Linked DNA regions of Homo sapiens: region 2 is linked to region 1. Evidence: promoter capture Hi-C in human tissues and cell types (Jung and others, 2019). All regions are on one chromosome and are shown on one strand. The core of a region is centred on a gene start or on the middle of the fragment in contact, and the rest is flanking DNA. Distances in the headings are between cores, read along the strand shown.

The links. Contacts are between HindIII fragments. The study calls those that stand out against the background at their distance.
Region 2: a contact is called between a fragment that was not itself captured here and the fragment with the promoter of VPS33B in region 1, in 1 of the 25 tissues and cell types used here (liver).

The regions. Positions count from the first base shown.
Region 1 is chr15:91,019,555-91,025,623 of GRCh38, reverse strand. It overlaps VPS33B (VPS33B late endosome and lysosome associated), which reads left to right and starts at 3,030. Exons shown (of 23, transcript NM_018668.5): 1 at 3,030-3,470. The coding sequence starts at 3,375. It overlaps VPS33B-DT (VPS33B divergent transcript), which reads right to left and starts at 3,002. Exons shown (of 4, transcript NR_110104.1): 1 at 2,884-3,002; 2 at 1,653-2,311. RefSeq lists enhancers at 3,066-3,475, 3,330-3,946. The HindIII fragment of the contact is 30,515 bases long and covers 1-6,069 here.
Region 2 is chr15:91,289,037-91,295,105 of GRCh38, reverse strand. SV2B (synaptic vesicle glycoprotein 2B) reads right to left here. Exons shown (of 13, transcript NM_001323032.3): 12 at 5,426-5,585; 13 at 1-2,737. The coding sequence ends at 2,554. Among named protein-coding and RNA genes, the nearest start is that of CRAT37, 170 kb to the left of the region's middle. RefSeq lists an enhancer at 3,093-3,387. The HindIII fragment of the contact is 6,522 bases long and covers 179-6,069 here.

The DNA of each region.
Region 1 (6,069 bases), core at 1,781-4,280:
ACCAGCCTGGCCAACATGGCAAAACCCTGTCTCTACTAAAAATACAAAAAATTAGCTGGGCATGGTGGTGCGTGCCTGTAGTCCCAGCTACTCAGGAGGCTGAGGCAGCAGAATTGCTTGAACCCGGGAGGTGGAGGTTGTAGTGAGCCCAGATGCACCATTGCACTCCAGCCTGGGTGACAGAGCAAGACTCCATCTCAAAAAAAAAAAAAAAGTTATGGAAAAAACTTAGGAAGAAAAAGTTATGGGATAAAAAAAGTCATGGGATAAAAATAAAAATAAGGCTGGGCGCGGTGGCTCACGCCTGTAAGCCCAGCACTTTGGGAGGCTGAGGCAGGTGGATCACCTGAGGTCAGGATTCGAGACCAGCCTGGCCAACATGGAGAAACCTCATCTCTACCAAAACTACAAAAATTAGCTGGGAGTGCTGGCGCATGCCTGTAACTCCAGCTGCTCCAGAGTCTGAGGCAGGAGAATCGCATGAGCCTGGGAGGCGGAGGTTGCAGTTAGCCAAGACAGCACCACTGCCCTTCAGCCTGGGCAACAGAGTGAGATTCCGGGGGGGAAAAGAAGGAGTGTAATGTAATGCCTCACTCATCTTCTTTAAGCAGCAGTGGGAGTAAATCCCACCACTTTAGGGCAACCTCCATCTCCCACTGCAGCCAAGATTCAATCTAAGGGCGTTAGTGGGAAGAAAGGCTCAGCATAAAATACCATATGAGCTCTCAAAGTCCAGTGTGAGCATAGCGTGTTTTTTGTTTTTTGCTTAACCTTGTATTATACAGCTTTTCAAACATAGAAACGTAGGGAGAAGTTCAGCAAAGTGGCATGTGCCTGTATTCCAGCTATCTGGGGGGCTGAGGTGGGAGGATCACTTGAGCCCAGGAGCTCAAAGCTGCTGTGAGCTATGACTATACCTCTGCACTCCAACCTGGGCAACAGAGCAACACTCCATCTCTAAATAAAGACGTAGAATACTAAAATGCAATAAACCCCCATGTACCCATCAGCTTTAACAATTAACAAATGGCCAATCATTTTTTAATTTTTTTATAGACATGGGGGTCTTACTGTGTTGCCTAGGCTGGTCTTGAACTCCTGGGCTCAAGCAATCCACCTGCCTCGGTCTGGGTTCACAGGCGTGAGCCACCGTGCCTGGCCCAATCTTTTTCCTGAATGTTCCTACATCTCCCCCTGGGTTATTTTAAAGCAAATCCCAAACATATTTTAGTTTTTTTTTTTATTTTTTAAGAGACAGATCGGGCCAGGCATGGCGGCTCATGCCTACAATCCCAGCATTTTGGGAGACTGAGGCGGGAAGATCACCTGAGGTCAGGAGTTCAAGACCAGCCTGACCAACATGGAGAAACTCTGTCTCTACTAAAAATACAAAATTAGCTGGGTGCGTGGCACATGCCTGTAATCCCAGCTACTCAGGAGGCTGCAGCAGGAGAAACGCTTGAACCTGGGAGGTGGAGGTTGCAGTGAGCTGAGATCGTGCCATTGCACTCCAGCCTGAGCAACAAGAGCGAAACTCCATCTCAAAAAAAAAAGAGACAGAACATATCACTGCACTCCAGCCTGGGTGATAGATAAAGCCAGACCTTGTCTCAAAAAAAAAAAAAGAAAAGAAAAAACAAACGGTGTCTCACTCTGTTGCCCAGGCTGGGGTGCTGTAGCATGATCGTAGCGCACTGCAGCCTCAAACTCCTGGGCTCAAGTGATCCTCCTGCCTCAGCCTCCCAAGTATCGAGATTAAAGGTGCCCACCACCATGCCTGGCTATTTTTTATGTGTTGTAGTTGACCAATCTTATCTCAAACTCCTGGCCTCAAGCAACCCCCCGACCCCGACCTGGACCTCCCAAAGTGGTGGGAATTAGAGACATGAACCATTACTCCTGGCCAAATTATTTCACCTGTAAAAACTTCAGTATGTATCTCAAAGAGATAAGGACTTGTTTTTAACAGAAATACAAGCCTGTATGACATAGAAATACAAAAAATAATAATAACATAGAAATACAATACCTGGCCCAACGTTGTGGCTCACGCCTGTAATCCCAGCACTTTGGGAGGCCAAGGCAGGCGGATCACTTGAGGTCAGGAGTTCGAGATCAGCCTGGCCAACATAATGAAACCCCGTCTCTACCAAAAATACAAAAATTAGCCGGGCATGGTGGCACTCGCCTGTAATCCCAGTCTACTCGGGAGACTGAGGCAGGAGAATCTCTTGAACCTGGGGCGGCAGGGGGGTTGTGGCGCGGAGCTTGCAGTGAGCCGAGCTCCTCCACTAGGCAAAAGGGCGAGACTCTGTCAGGAAAAAAAAGAGAAGAAAAGAAATACAATACCCGAAAAGTTTTAGTAATTCCTTAAATCAGTTATCTTTGAATTATTATCCAAAAAAGATCCACACATTGAAACATTTTGTTGATACATCTCTTAAATCTCTTTTATTCTGAAGTGTTTTCCCCTCCCACATTTCCCACTTTGCCATTTTTTTGAAGACGACAGATCATTTGTCCCATATAATTTCCTACATTTTGGATATGGTTGATTTCATACCTTTGGTGTCTTAACATATTCCTGCTAATCTCTATATAGCCTATAAACTGGTAGTTAGATCTTGAGGCTTGATTAGGTTCAATTTTTGGCAATAGGTGATGCTCTGTATTTCCTATGCATCTCACCAGGAAATGATATGATGGTATGATTGATCAGAGTTGAGGTATTGTTAGCTAGCCTGATGCATTCATTATGTCTTTTTTTTTTTTTTTTTTTTTTTTTTTGAGGCAAGGTCTAGCTTTGTTGCCCAGGCTGGGGTGCAGTAGCGCGATCGCAGTTCACTGCAACCTCCGCCTCCCTGACTCGAGCGATTCTCCCACCTCAGCCTCTGGAGTGCTGCGACCCCAGGCGCCGCCACCTAATTAATAGACGCGTTGCCTCCGTTTTTCAAATGTCCCTTTCAGGACGCCGTCCCCTTCCTGGTACGCGAAGCGCTGGGAGCGAAAGGGACTTCCGGGAGATCTAGGAAGTCGCTTCTTTTTCTGGTAGAAGGCGGGGTTCTCCTCGTACGCTGCGGAGTCTCTGCGGGGTGTAGACCGGAATCCTGCTGACGGGCAGAGTGGATCAGGGAGGGAGGGTCGAGACACGGTGGCTGCAGGTCTGAGACAAGGCTGCTCCGAGGTAGTAGCTCTCTTGCCTGGAGGTGGCCATTCATTCCTGGAGTGCTGCTGAGGAGCGAGGGCCCATCTGGGGTCTCTGGAAGTCGGTGCCCAGGCCTGAAGGATAGCCCCCCTTGCGCTTCCCTGGGCTGCGGCCGGCCTTCTCAGAACGAAGGGCGTCCTTCCACCCCGCGGCGCAGGTGACCGCTGCCATGGCTTTTCCCCATCGGCCGGACGCCCCTGAGCTGCCTGACTTCTCCATGCTGAAGAGGCTGGCTCGAGACCAGCTCATCTATCTGCTGGAGCAGGTCAGTGCTTGCCTGACGCCTTTATCGCATCTACAGTTTAGCACTCATTGGATGCACATTTCTTCCTTGCCGTGCCCCTTTGATCTTGTTCTTGGCCCCTGGTATTGTCCTTGGCGCTTCCCCAGCAGGTCCAGAATGAATCCAGGGAGTAGTAAGAGCTGTTTGGAACCTGGCCAGAGAGTTAATGGAAATCACCCCCCAACCCCGCATACAGGCAAGGGAGACACCATTAGTGCCAGGCATCCCTAGGGACGGAAAGATGGTTAAGACATCTTTGCCATTAGGGATCTTACCACTCCAGTAGGAGCTGTATGAAGCACAAATTATCACACACAGGTGGTAAATGAGTGATAGAGCTAGTGTACCCGAAGAGTTCACAGTAAGTGATCATTTCTAGTTGGGGTGATGATCTAGGAGCTTCAAGGAAGTGAGTGTGAGTAATAAGCATATTTTCTTTGGAGACTAAGCATGCTCCAGGCAGATAGATTGGTAGGAGCAAAGTTGGCAAACCAGGGAAAGACAAGGCATGTAAGGGAAGACACCCATCAGCAGTTACACAGTAGCCACTGAAAAAAATTTTTTTTCCATTTGTGGCATGAGACAATACTTGATGATTCTAATAGTGATGTGTGTGGTGGCGTAAATGGGCAACAAGAAGGCCAGTTAGGAGACCGTAGATCAGACAAGAAATAAAGGCCCACACAAAATTGGTAGCAGTGGGAATGAAGGAAAGTGATGGATTTTTAAGTTATGGTGAAAGAAAACTCAAAGACTTACTGATTGGTTATAAATGTTGAAGGAGAAGCAAAAATGAGTGAGATTTTTAACCTGGGTTATTAGGAAAATAATACTGCCACTGTGATTTTAATGGATTACTTGTGTAATCATTTAGTTATTCATTTTATGTCTGTATTCCTCATTAGACTGGAAGGTGGGCAGGGATCATGTTTGTTTTGTTCAACACTACCTAGTGAGTACCTAGCTTAGAGTCAAGCACACACCATGTGCTTAATAAATATTTGTTGTATTAACATTGAATAGAAATGAGAAAAATAATTAGAAAAAGGAACAGGTTTGATGGGGGAAGTTGATTTGTTTGGGTTTGGATGGGGGAAGTTAAGATGCCCGTAAGAAATATAGCTTGTAACATCCAGCAGATAGAAATGTAGAACTGCAGCTGCATTGTGAGGACTGGAAGGAAGATGGATCAAGATGAGAACTGCAGGGCATCTTAGACCAGATTTTATTTCTATTTTATTTTATTTATTTTTTTGAGACACAGTCTCACTCCGTTGCCCAGGCTGGAGTGCAGTGGCGCGATCTTGGCTAACTGCAACCTCCACCTCCCGGGTTCAGGCGATTCTTCTGCCTCAGCCTCCCCAGTAGTTGGGATTACAGGCGCACGCTAGCCCACCTGGCTAATGTTTGTATTTTTAGTAGAGATAGGGTTTCACCATGTTGGCCAGGCTGGTCTCAAACTCCTGACCTCAGGTAATCTGCCCGTCCCAGCCTCCCAAAGTGCTGGGATTATAGGCTTGAGCTACCACTCCCGGCTTCTTTCTCTTTAATACTTAGTGCTTGCACAGTGACATGCACATAAAAGACTTGCAACAATGTCTGAAGAATTTAAAAGAGGTGCTAGTTAAAGCCACTAGTTCAGGTGAGATCAAGTAGAGGAGACCAAGAAGAGAAACTTGAGCCCACTGGGTGATTCAGCATGGCCAAAGTGGATTTCCAGGCAATAACGTCCTCTCCTAACTAACTTCTGACTTAATTTTTGTTAATGTGCACTGCTATTCAGCTTGAAATATCAGAATCATCTTTGCCTCTCCTTCACCCTGATACTTAACTGAACCAGTTGCTGAGTTCCATGGATACTTCTTTACACATAACTTTTTTATGGTGATTATAAAATAACACTTGCACATTATAGAAAATGTAAGAAGATTAAGGAAAGTAAAAAGGAAAAGAAAACTACTTATAGCCCTACCATAAGTTATAAACACTACTAACACTGTTAATTTCTTTCAAGTATTAAAAAAAATATTAGGCTGGGTGCGGTGGCTCATGCCTGTAATCCCAGCACTTTGGGAGGCCAAGGCAGGCAGATCACCTGAGGTTGGGAGTTCGAGACCAGCCTGACCAACATGGAGAAACCCCATCTCTATTAAAAATACAAAATTAGCTGGGCATAGTGGCCCATGCTTGTAATCCCAGCTACTCAAGAGGCTGAGGCAGGAGAATTGCTTGAACCCAGGAGGTGGAGGTTGCGGTGAGCCGAGATCGCGTCATTGCACTCCAGCCTGGGCAACAAAAGCGATACTCCATCTCAAAAAAAAAAAAATTATATTACACATTCCATGTATCTCTTAATCTATGTTTGCTCACACCACCACCAGCCTAAATCAGGCCTCTTTCATTGCCACATGCTTGCGCTCTGTGGATGGTTTTATTAACTCCCTAAGTGGACTCCCTGCCTCCTGTTTCTCTGGTCTTCAGATTCCTCTAACATTTCCAGCTGATTGGAATGCTTCAATACACAAAAGCTTTATTTTTCCCTGTTAATTAGAGGATCAAGGCCACACTCCCCTAAGCTGGC
Region 2 (6,069 bases), core at 2,190-4,689, 270 kb before region 1:
CCGACATCGGGAGTCTCTTGGGGTAGAACATGAAGTGAAAAAGAAGTGGATGGCCAGAATGCTGTACATTGTCCCCCAGTGACCTGCCACAGAGACTATTTTTAAAGACGCATTTATCTCAGCAGGAGTGACGGCATTTAAGAAGTAGCCCGGTACTCAGGCTAGACAATCCTGCAAAAGTCTGCAGAGCTTGGCTGCACCCTTTACAAAGACCTGAGTGATGGATGAGATGGGAATTGCCCTTGATTGGCTAGGTGGCTGGTTTAAAGAGCCATAAAGATAATGCAGAAGTGAGATCTTGGAAACCAAATGGAGTTAGCCCCCAAATTATTGCAGCCACCCCAGCACTCCAATGTTAATCCAATTTTAAATTTACAAGATCCATCTTAACTAGAAATGCAGGCTCTAACTGTCCTGCAAGTTTTTTAAGTGGTAGCTGCTCAATGAATTGTATTATCCCATTAAAGAATAATGTTTTAGATGTGGTAATCCCAGACTCACACAATTCTCTTTTATGAACCTAGCCACTGTATTCATATGGAAAGTAAATTACAGCTATATTACATCGAGCCTTTCATTATTGACAGAGCAATAAATGTTAGTACTCCTATAAAACACTGAGAGAAAGATTAATACACAGTGGTATATATATTTGGAGGAATCAGGGTGTCCAGTCAGAGTCAATATGTCTTCTCTCCCTGTACAGAAAAAAAGGGAGGGGTGTAAATAAAAAGGTGAGGGTTGACAGAAGGAGAGTAAACATTTTAACCATTAAAACTGATCTCAAATCGACGGTGGAAAGGTGTCATAAGATTTACCCCTACCAACCCGTTAATTGAGGAAAATTACAGAAAGATGTCCCGAAGCTATCATAGGACCTAAGCATTTCTCCAATACTGAGAAAACACTCGATATAGCCATTATTATTCTGTTTTAAATTTTTGGAGATCTCTGCCAGGGAAAATGTGGCACTTGCCCATTGAGAGCACTGCAAATCAACTCAAACAACTAGTTCTTGCAGGCTGATGTTCATCCGGCCTGGGCAGGTGCAAGTTCACCTCCGCTGGCAGTTGTGCGTAGCTCACTGTCCCCTCCATTGTCAGACAGTTCTGATGTTTTTCCTCTTCCATGCAGTCAAGACTTCAGTCTATTGCTGACCTTCATCAGAGAGGTTTGTCCTAAGCTCCTCCCCCAACCCACACCCCTGTTTATGTTCAAAGCTGGACTTCAGGAAACAGTTCTCTTAAGCACTGAAGAAAAACATATTTGGCATCCACTACACTCCCTAACTCCCACTCCAATGGACTCTGTTTCAAAAGCTCTGGACACATAGCATAGATTTCTCATGAGACCTGACCATCCTAACAAATATGGATTGCATTTGCATTTTACCACTAGAACAAACAAAAAGTATTTACATTTGGAAGAACTGTGGCTACACTTCCCCATCCTTCCCTCAGTCCCCATGTTGTTTGATTCTTGCCTGCAAAGAGTACCAGAGGCCACTGAACACATCTCACATTGTTTTTGGGTAGTGGCAAAGTAAAATGCCAGCACTGAAGATGGTGAGCTTGAGTTTCACAAGTCATCTGTGTAAGGGAGAGAAGTAACTACTCACTACACCTGCACAAAGAAAAGTGCCTGGATTAAGCAGACTGCACAATGTGAGTTTGTTAATTCATCCTCCCAACAGAAAGTTAAATGGCTGTAAGAAATTGTGCTTGCATTTCATTTGATCAGACCTCATTTCCTGGGACCTCAAACACCAAGTTCTCCCAAAATATGGCTAAAATGCTGGCAATATTTGCAGATACCAGTTGTGGAAATTAAACCCAAATAAAGTTATATACAAACTTAGTTTACAGAATAACTATCCCATTCCGTTTCTTTGAATAGAGCAAAACAGAAATAAATATCCTTCTTAAATGTATTACCTAATTATCATGGAAAGCCTAGGAGACATAGGAGAAAAGTAGATCTCTATAGATGTTGCTCAAATACTTGGCTTTCTAGATCAGAGTATCCTCAATGCTACTATGTCAATTTTCGAGTGGAAAATATGATAGGTGATACTTTTAAATGCAAAAATATATACTTCAAGCCCAATCTTCATATAATGACTCTAACTTCCAGCCAAGTTGATTTGTTAAGTTGTTGGGCTCCAAGGAGCTTTCTGGAGGAACCTGGGTGTTTCTGACCCTCTAATTCCTTTTCAAACGCAAGTTAAGTCCTTGCACTTGACTTAGAGAAATGCTTGCTCCTCGCATAGTGTGTGCACTCACTGGAGAATCCTCTCCCTGCCTTGGACTGGGAAGACTTGAAGTTAAACACGCAGCTCTGTGATTCTAAGGGTGGCTCAGGGCACCCCCAAATCAGTCACCTGAGTTACAAACATATTGACAGCTGAAGTGGGTCCTAAACTAGGGGTCACAAAGTCAACTTCTCCTCCCGTGCTATCCAAGGTGTCCTCCGGACCGTGATAGGCAGGAAGTGTGGATGCATTTCAGTGTCCTGGACAAGATTCTCTCGACCTTTCCTTTTCCCATAGGTTGTTCACATCAGGACCTGTTCTCGAGTCTCTGGCAGTCGAAGGGCAATCAGGCCACCCCCAACCAGAGAAGCAGCAGCCAGAAGGATGGGGACCACTTTGGTTATCCCAACAAAAGAAGCAAAGATGGTGTTTCCCAGGATGGCGCCAAATTTGCATAATCCATTGAGAATGCCGAAGGCTGTTGCTCTGTAAAAGAGGAATGGAAATAATTCTGACATTCTGAACCACATTAGATGAACAGGACTGGGCTCTTTCTTTTCCTTATTGCAGGGGGAAGAGGGTGCAAGGGAGTTTTTTTTCCTAAATATAAAAATAACACATTCTCATTGTAGTCAAATTTGGAAATACAGAATAATATAAAGATGCATGGATATCTAACCTCTTCACCGAGACACAATCACCTCTATTAACATTTTGAAGTATTTTCTTCAAGTGTTTTTCTTTTTTGTTTTTTTTTCAAAGATATCTATTTAAAACATTTTTATAGGTACTACATGCTTACTATGGAAATCTTGAAAGGATGAAGAAGTATACAAAGCAGAAAGTGTAAGTGTTCCCCCTTTTAACACTCTCAACCCTCCTGAAGCAGAGACTGCCAGTTGCCCACAAACAGCATTTCCCCAAATGTAGGACTACATTTCCCAGACTGATTTGCTGCTGAGCATGGCCATGTGACTTAGTTTTGGCCAATGGGATGTAAGTGCAAGTGGCAGCAGTTCCCAAGAAGCTTCCGTAAGAGACGTTGCGGGTGGGCCTTTTGCTCTGTTCCCCTTCATTCTTTTCCTTCTATCCTGCTTCATGATGGAACACAGATGGTTTCATTTTGGACCATGATGAGTCCATGCAAGGAAAAACAATGAGATAGAAAGAGCCTGCACCACCCACTCTAGACTTTTTCAGGAAAGAAAAATGCAATGCTTAACCTTCTTAAGACCACAGTTACCTGAGGTTGCTGTCAGCAACAGCAAAACCTAATCCTAATTATGATCTTTCAATCACACTTTCCAGTGAGAACTATTACTAATCATTTATTCTTTCATGACCCCATCTGTATGCAGAGGCAATATTCCCAATGCTACCTCTCCCCAACTGAAATAAAGCGTTTCTTTCTCATACCACAAGTTTATTAAGAGTGTGGGTATATTTTTGTTCTTAAAACTCTTCTTTCATTTTTGTCTATAACTGTACCACACTGTAGCTTTATATTCATCAACCCAGTCTTTTTTGTTTGTCTTAGTATCTTTGTTTTTGTATTTTCTTGGATCTTTTAACATATGTCCTTTTTTAAATAAACTTTTTTCAAGTTCCCAGAGGGGAAAAAAAACTTGTTGAATTTTGAATGAATTATTTTATGTTAGAAAAAAAACTAAATAAAAATTGACGTTTTTGTAAGATTGAATCTTCTTATCCAAAATTAGGTATATCTTGTCTTTTAAATATATATATTTATATATAATAATGTATACTAATTATATGTTATTAATTATATGTATTATCATAATTATATATAAATATATAATCCATAAATATATACATTTTCTGAGACAGGGTCTGTCTCTGTCACCCAGGTTGGTGTGCAGTGTTGTGATCCTAGCTCACTGTAACCCTGAAACCCCGGGGCTCTCGCAGCTCTCCCCCTCAGCCTCCTGAGCAGCTAGGACTACAGGCACATGCCACTATGCCTGGCTAATTGTCTAATATATTCTGTAGAGATAGGGGTCTCACTGTATTGCCCAGGCTGATCTTGAACTCCAGCCTTCAAGCAATCCTTTTGCCTCGGCCTCCCAAATCACTGAGTTGGCATATATTTATCTTCTCTTATGTGTCTTTTTTTATATCTCTTAGTAAAGCTTTATGGTTTTCTTCATTTGAGTGTTTCACTTGTCAAGTTGATCCCTAATTATTTTATGACGTCTGCCATTATTAAATGGATATCAATTGCATCTTTAACTTTTTCGATATATTTTAAAACCTATACATAATTTCGTTTTATTACTGACCACCTGACCACATTGTCTTTTTGTCTATAGTGGTCTCATAAGTTAATTCTCTTAGGATTCCTAGATGTAAAATCACATCATATTCAAATAATAATCATTTGTCCTCCTGTTATTTTGTGTAAAACTTAGCAGTTCTTTGATTCAAATGAGAGGGGCTCCAAATATGACACGTTGTGCTCTTCCTTAGTTATCTATATCCCAATACCTCTGTCGCCAATTTTGGAAATATCATTAAGGTTTTTGCAGAATTTCATTTACCCACCTTCCTTACCTCTTCACATTCCTTTTTGACCACAGGGCCTCTTATCTTCTCCTTTAAACTTTACAATTCCCCTCCACGAAGAAAAACAATTACTAAGTAATGGCCTTGATCCTATGCCTTTAAACAAGGCCTCTTCCCATATACGACCTGTGCAAAATAAAAGTAACCCCTGGGCCTCCCTGCCACATTCTCTGCAGATTCCCTGGACTTCATGCTGCCTCCCGACCTTTATTTCTCTCCTTGCCCCCACCCTGTGCTATTCCAGCTCTTCACTTTTTTGCCTTATCTCCCCTTGAAGGTCTGTTCTCTCTTGTGGATTACATGACACATATGGTTTTACCAACTTTTCACTCTTATTTCCTTCTCCTGGACATAGTTTGCTCCCATCCTTTGCTTCTTGCCATCTTTCCCACCCTATCCAAGCCCTAGCCTGCCAACTTTCAGGTCTATGCCATCCACCATGCAGGAGAAGCTCAACATAAAAGATGTTTGTTTCACGGAACAGCAGAAAGACCACGATGGCCATGCACAGCATGAGATTTAGGGAGCAGGTAGACTTCTGGCCAAAGAAGCCCAAACAAGTCCCTGAGGAAAGCCTGGGGAAGAACTGACCTCTGGTTGGTGGGATACAGCTCCACTGTGATCACATCCAGAGCATTCCAGGCTGCAATGCTTGTCCCACAGAACAGGCACTGCCAGCCGATCATTGCAGACTCACTGTTGCCAAAAAACAGGAAGAAGCAGCAGACTGCAGAGATTAGCATGGAGCCACCTGCAGAGGGAGTTCAAGGGCAAAAAGAAACATGAGGCCTGTGTCTTGCACATGGCTGTCACTCACAGTTCTTGCCCCATCTCCCACCCTCACTGGTACACCTGAAGCCAAGGCTGCCTGAAGTATTAGGTTCACCCTCCACACAGAGAGAGCACAGCTGGAATCCTCACAAGGCACCCCAGACATGGCATTAGAGCCCTCTGCGTGGGTCAGATCACCAGACTTAGGAAGGATTCTGAAGTCACCACTCTAAGGTGGTGCCCAGCTCAGAGTGACGGGACGGGGCAGATAGGGGCATTTGTTGAGAATCTATTATGTACCAGACATTGTTCTAGGTGCTTGAGCTACATCAGTATTGGCCAAAAAACAAAAACAAAAACCTCAGTCTTGATTTGAAACCAGGATGTCAAAGAGATCTGTGCTTCTTGTTCAATGTAGCAATATTCACAATAGTCAAAATATGGAGTCAACCTAAGTGGCCATC